Regions from separate parts of the Homo sapiens genome. Here region 1 is linked to region 2. Evidence: promoter capture Hi-C in 16 types of primary human blood cells and fetal thymus (Javierre and others, 2016). All regions are on one chromosome and are shown on one strand. The core of a region is centred on a gene start or on the middle of the fragment in contact, and the rest is flanking DNA. Distances in the headings are between cores, read along the strand shown. Region 1 overlaps SMYD2 (SET and MYND domain containing 2). Region 2 holds the start of PTPN14 (protein tyrosine phosphatase non-receptor type 14).

What was found. The method cuts DNA at HindIII sites, captures the fragments that hold promoters and counts their contacts. A CHiCAGO score of 5 or more calls a contact.
Region 1: a fragment that was not itself captured here is called in contact with the fragment with the promoter of PTPN14 in region 2 in 1 of 17 cell types (endothelial precursors); the score reaches 5.0 in endothelial precursors.

The regions. Positions count from the first base shown.
Region 1 is chr1:214,328,016-214,330,930 of GRCh38, forward strand. It overlaps SMYD2 (SET and MYND domain containing 2), which reads left to right. Exons shown (of 12, transcript NM_020197.3): 8 at 2,153-2,263. Among named protein-coding and RNA genes, the nearest start is that of SMYD2, 48 kb to the left of the region's middle. RefSeq lists a silencer at 831-1,125 and an enhancer at 1,052-1,141. The HindIII fragment of the contact is 1,122 bases long and covers 1,006-2,127 here.
Region 2 is chr1:214,549,820-214,553,038 of GRCh38, forward strand. It overlaps PTPN14 (protein tyrosine phosphatase non-receptor type 14), which reads right to left and starts at 1,783. Exons shown (of 19, transcript NM_005401.5): 1 at 1,364-1,783. RefSeq lists enhancers at 446-1,267, 1,268-2,088, 2,089-2,909. The HindIII fragment of the contact is 5,292 bases long and covers 1-3,219 here.

The sequences.
Region 1 (2,915 bases), core at 317-2,816, 220 kb before region 2:
ACAGAGAAAGAAGACATTTACTACCAAAATGACCACAGTCAAACTTTTGATTATCTTTAGAGTCTCTGTATCCCTATTGCCAAACAACTGAGCTTGAGCCTTATTTTATTTTATTTTTTTTGGTGAATTCTTGCTTGTTCCCCACCATCCCTCAAAGGTCCAAAGCAAAAGAAAGCAAGCAACGCAGCAGTAGCTAAAGAGCTGGCACTCCAAGGGACACATCAGAATTTCGTGTTCTATCAGTTCCACATCTGAACTTCAGGTCGCAGTTCACTTTTTAGGAATCTAAATCAAAAGTCCAGGTATATGCAGTAATAGGAGAAGTCAAGGCAGTCTGTGGCCAAGGGGCACCTTAGTTTCCCTCCTCAGCTTCAGGACGTGGAGAGAACCAGTCTTCCCATCACCTGCTCAGCGATTCCCTGTTCCCTTCCCATGTGTGATTCCTGACTACCTCATGAGACGTCTCACCTGGGAAGGGCTGGCCTGATGGATTGCTGTAGTATGCTCTGTGTTCTTAAGTAAATTCCCAGCAAGACACATGAGTTTTTAGGAACTTGTAATCACACTTGGGTTAATTTCAGTTTAGCAATTTGTAATGCTATTTTACGGTGCATGCCTGGGTATTTGAAGTGTGAAGTGTAAAATATAACTGTCAGCGTGCTGAATGACAAGTGCTTTGCTTTCTCTGGAAGGCACTCACTAATCCACAGCTGCACTGGGAGCTGAAGCCCAAGATGCAGGCAGGTTGGCCCTTCTACCTTCAGCTAAATCCATTACGATGAGGGTGTGTCCCCTTTCGGCTGGGGTGTCTGAGTTTCCAAAGGTCTTATGGAGACTGCTCTGAAGCCTTTCTTGAAACAGATAATTGCAGCCAGTCAGAATGCAGTCACCCAGGCTCCAGTGCACCTGTGGGCTGACTGCAGAGATGAGCAGGTTGTCACCTAAGCTGGCTCAGTCTGGCTGGGAGCAGTGGTACTGGAGTGGCCTTTGTCGCCATCTTCTGGAAGCTTCCGCATGTTGCACTGTGAGTCAGTCATTACAGAGATTGTTGGCAGGCTCTTGTGGTGTGAGGCAGGGCAGGGGTGGCTGCAGTTTCCTTTTGCCCTTATGTTCTCCCAGATCTGAAACGCAGTAACCTCATTTTTGGGAAGTCAGTGCTTTGGGGATTACTTACCCTTCAGAGAAGGAGAAACCCCATTCCCCAGGGTTTCGGGGTGAGCTGCAACGTGTCCAGTACCTCCCCATGGGCTGGGGAGAGCTTAGCTGCCCCTGCAGCACCCAGCCCTGTGCGTGTCCTCCCCTGCCTGCCTGGTGGTGCCCGTGGTCACTGGCACGCTAGCGGCTTCATGAGATCCATCTGTTCAGTCAGACATTTGCCTGATTGTGTGGGATGAGTAGCCAGTGCTGTCCCAGTGAGTAGATAATGGACATCTAAATGCTGGTCTCCTCCATATGCTCCAAGCCTTAGTTACAGACCCCATTAGGAAAAGGCAAGGACGGTGGAGCCCCATGAACCAAAGGTAAGGACTTTCCAAGCTCGCTGCCCTGCAGGATCAGGAGCTGCCCGCTGGGCCAGGCCGCAGCATTCTGGTGTCCTAGAAGATGTGTTCACCCTCCGCTGGCCACCCAGAGCTGTGGGTCCCAGCCCACTGAGTGGAGCCTCTTGCTCCATTGCCAGTTGATGTGAGGAGAAGGGGAGCTTAGCTGCATGTGTGTGGTGTGTGCGTGCTCATGCCCTCCCCTGCACGCAGCATCCAGTGATGACGGCAACGAAGCATTTGCGCCGTCTCAGGTGGTGAAACATGAAACTACATGAAGGCCAGGCAGAGGCAGCTGAGGGAGGCAGGGATCCTCTGAACCCTCCAGGACACTGTTTTAAGGACTCCTTGATTCTACAGACTCTTTCCACTAACCTGCACCTTGGCTTCAGCTCCCAGTTCAGCTGTGGATTAGTGAACACCTTCCAGAGAAAGCCAACGTCAGGTGGCTGCTCAGTTCAGGAATTCCGTGCCTTAAAGTAAACAGCGCATTCCTCCGCTGCAGCCCGCCTTATCCTCTGCATGGGCCCTGCAGGTGACTGCAAAGGCACGGGAATGACAAGGATTGAGTTTACCTGTAGCAGACTGAAGCTTTATCTTTTTGGACCCCGTAGGTTTTTACCAGCTATATTGATCTCCTGTACCCAACGGAAGATAGAAATGACCGGTTAAGAGATTCTTATTTCTTTACCTGTGAGTGCCAGGAGTGTACCACCAAGGACAAGGTAAGGTTGTTCATTGGGCAAGAGCGCTGACTGCACTCTGATCTCAGGACCTCTCTGCTGAAGAGCTTGTCTGACTTGGCGGATCTCCTCTAGGATCTTTTTGACCCTTTAAACCCTCCTTACAAAGACAGCCAAAGGGAATCTAGTTAGACCAGGTCTCTGTTCAGACCTGCTCCTAGTAGCTAAAGAAAACATTTCCATTACACTGTACAAACAGGAGAAAGGTCTGCCGAACTGCTCTTTCTTGAAAAGAAACAACTGCTCAAAGGAGGAGGGGGGAAAAGCACATGAGTATAATCTCTAGGCTTTCCAACCTGTTCACCAGAATATGTGGAAGTTTCCCTGGCATTTTCCAAATTGTTCCGTCAATGCCATCCTTCCTTATTCTAGTCTCTTGATTCGTAGATGTGTAAACACATATATCTGCCCATAGCCAACACATTTTAGATAAGGAGTATCTAGAAAATTAATCTTTTTGTTTTGTTTCTGTAAAAAGGTAATGGAGTACTGAATTTCTTCAGATGCATTGCCTGATTTCCTTTCATTCTTTTGTAACCTTGGAATGGGCCAGTGTCGACCGCTGTGTGGGAATGTGTATTATATGAGAGGTTTCCCTATCAGTGTGGTTTCCATGGGCGGTAACGCCTTGCCC
Region 2 (3,219 bases), core at 533-3,032:
TCCTCGGTAAGCTACTTGTGGTTCCCATAAGTGGCTAACGTGCTTCTAGATTTATTTCTGATATTGGGGGTGGAGAGAATGCTATCCCAGCAACACTGCACCAACATGGCCATAAATGCCCCTCAGGCCCCCAGATGGCTAGGGAAACTTTCTGTCCTTCTTGTGTTCACTCTGCACGAGCTGTTTCCTCTGCCTGGAATACACCCTCCAGAGGAGCACAACCTCTATCCTCTAAGTGTAGTGCACCCTTCACCAGGACCAAGCTCGCCTCAGACTCTCACAGAACCCCTCTTCCATGTATTATCATTCTTCACCGGCCTTCAAGTTTCCTCCACTAGGCTGCAGACTCCTGCCCTGTGATCTCATTTAGCATCTTTCTATCCTGTTCCTAGCAGAGTAGAAGCTGGGTTTGTTGGATGAATGAGTAAACTAATCCATTTCAAGAAGTTAACACATTGGTGGAAACTCTGTAACTGCCCGCACCTGCAGTCTAGAGATTCCTCACCTTCACAAAGAACCTGCGACAGCCAGTCCCTAGACTTAAGCGGAAACCCCACAATTTCTGAAATTGTAGGTGGGGATGAGAAGGTTGGAGAACAAGAACCCAAGGAAGTGAGAGGGAAAGGGAGATAGGGGCAGCGTTACCTCACTGCTCTCTCCAAACGAAAAGGTGTAAACCCCATTTACAAGTATTCAAACCTGAGATCTGGGGGTCACGTGGGGAAGGAGAGGCTGTTAATACCTACAACTTTGGAAGTTTGAGGTGAAGACCTGATCTGAAATTGTTTGGCCACAGCTTTTTTTCTACGAGCCAGCTCGACCACCCAAGTAGGAGCCTCGACGCCCAGGAGTTCGGTGGCACCACTGGGGCCTAGTGAGAGGGCAGGAAAACTCCGCTCCCCTCAAGATTCCTTCCCGGTGGTGGTGGGGTGTGATTGGGAGCGTCGGGCAGCTGCATCCCCCTACCGCTGCAGCGACCGCGACGTCGTTCGTCTTTCATCCTCTAGCCCCCAAGGTCTAGGTATCTCTAGTTGCCCTTCCGAGGCCCTCTCTCGTTCCCAAAACGCAGAAGGGAATGGAGAGAGGGGACCAGGGTGTGGGTTTAACCACAAACTCCCCAGACTGCGCTCACCTTCCAGCTCGCTCCCGGGACCAGCTTTGCGCCTCACCGCGGGCAGCTCCCACCGCGAGATAACACCCCTGCGGCCCGGCCACCCCGCGCCCCAGGCTGCCCTGCCAGGCGTCCCGGGGCGCCAATCGCAAGTTGGCGTTGCCAGCGTCTGCCCAAGTCATCTGCAGGGCGCCCGGAGCGCCAAGGCGGCCTCCAACCTCGGGCCCAACTCCCGGCTTGGACGGGGCTTACCTGCTTACATGGCCCCCGTGGCGCCCCGGAGTCCCGCGCGGAAAGGCTGTCCTTCGCGGCGGCGGAGCCGATTCCCCACGGAATTGATTCCAGTGACTGGCGGAGGAGGGGCGAAGGGAAGGAGCCGCAGGAGGCGAAAGGGGAGGGAGGTTTCCGCCGCGATCCCGGCGCGAGAGTCCGAGCAGAGGCGCACCGGGGGAGAAAAGGAGAAAAACCTAAGCACGGGGCTGTCCCGCCCGAGGAGGCCGGGGAGGATGGCTCAGCTGGGAGGGGAAGGAGCGCCAGTGGCCACTTGATGTCTGTCTAGGGCTCCCCGAGGACCTGAGCCAGGAGAGCAGGCGGCTGAGCCCGGAGAAGCACAGCAACCTGCCCCCGAGTCTGCGCCCGCTGCGCTCACTCCGCCGAGAAAAAGTTGGAAAGAACTTTGAGGGGCCGGGAGAGCCAGAGCGGCAGGAAATGCGAGCGGCCGGGAGAGGAGGGAGGAAGGGGCCGTGCGAGTGGGAGGGGACGGAGCAGGCGCCGGCGGCCACGGCTCCCCCACCCCAGAGCCGGGCTCCGCGGCCCTGGGGGCCGGGAGGCGGAGGGAGCGCTGGGCGCGCGGCCGGGGGCGGGGAGGAATGCGGCCCGGGAGGGCGCGCGCCGGGGGCGCCGCGGGCGCGCGCTGAAACGTGGAGCCCCAGCTCCCGAGCTCCCGAGCTGGAGGCGCGCCGTCCTTGGGGACGTCACAGCGCTGGAATCCGAGGAATGCCGGGCTGCAGGAGCTCCTTCTGCAGGCCCGGAGAAGTCGCACACTTTTAATGGGGTAGTTTTGGAAAATGTTTTAAAAGGTGGGGGCCGAGGACGGAGGACCGGATGAAACTCCCTGGAGTAAGAGACGTGGAAGTGGAGAGAGCAAGGCGACCGCAGCCACCCCAACCCTGGGCTGCTCCCGCCGTTGGGGAGAAAGAGGCAAGGCAAGGAAGAGCCCACCTAGACTTCCGAGGACCGCAGAGACGGGGCGGCGGCAGGAACTTGCTCACCCCGACCTACATTCAGAATAGTCCACCTTATATTGGGGAACCCTCCAAGCAGGACGTTTCATGCAGCCACCCCACAGGGGAAAACAGACCAGGAGAAAGTAAGGTGGCCTCACCAAGTAGGCAATCTCAGAGATCTCTCCCTAGAATCTCTGGGTACTGGACCCGGTGTCTTAGCCTTCTCTCCCTGCCCCCTCCCGCCCCGTAGGAATGATAAAAAGCAGCCTGTGTGCTGAGAGTTGGAAAATGTCGTTTTCCCGGTTTGTTCCATGCCACAGAATCGCCCCACCCTGCCTGGGTAGGCACTGGGAGGGAACTTCCTTAGCACTTTCGGAGGTGGAGTTAATGAGACGCAGCTGGTATGATGGAAAAAGCTCGGAGCCAGGCGACTGAACCTGGGTTTTAGGCCCTGCCCGATTGGATAACTGAGGAGTATCCCAGCCCCTGAGATCCTAGGTTTCTGTAGCTGCAAAATTAAATAATTTGTCTAGATTTCTGTGGTCCTTTGCATTGCTACAAACATGTCTTGGGATTTATCTCGGTAAGATTCCAGTCCTTTGTTGAAAAGGGACCTTGAAGTCGTTGGCACACAATGTATTGTCCCAAATCACTTCAGTGTCCGGCAACTCATGCAAAAATTCCTGGCCTCTTGGGGAAGAGAATTGGAAACCAAAAAGCGCGGTGGCTCACACCTGTAATCCCAGCACTTTGGGAAGCCAAAGCTGGGGGATTGGCTGAGCTCAGAAGTTCGACACCAGCCCGGGCAACACGGTGAAACCCCGTCTCTACTAAAATTCAAAAAATGTTTCGGGGGTGGCGGCGTGCGCCTGTAGTCCCAGC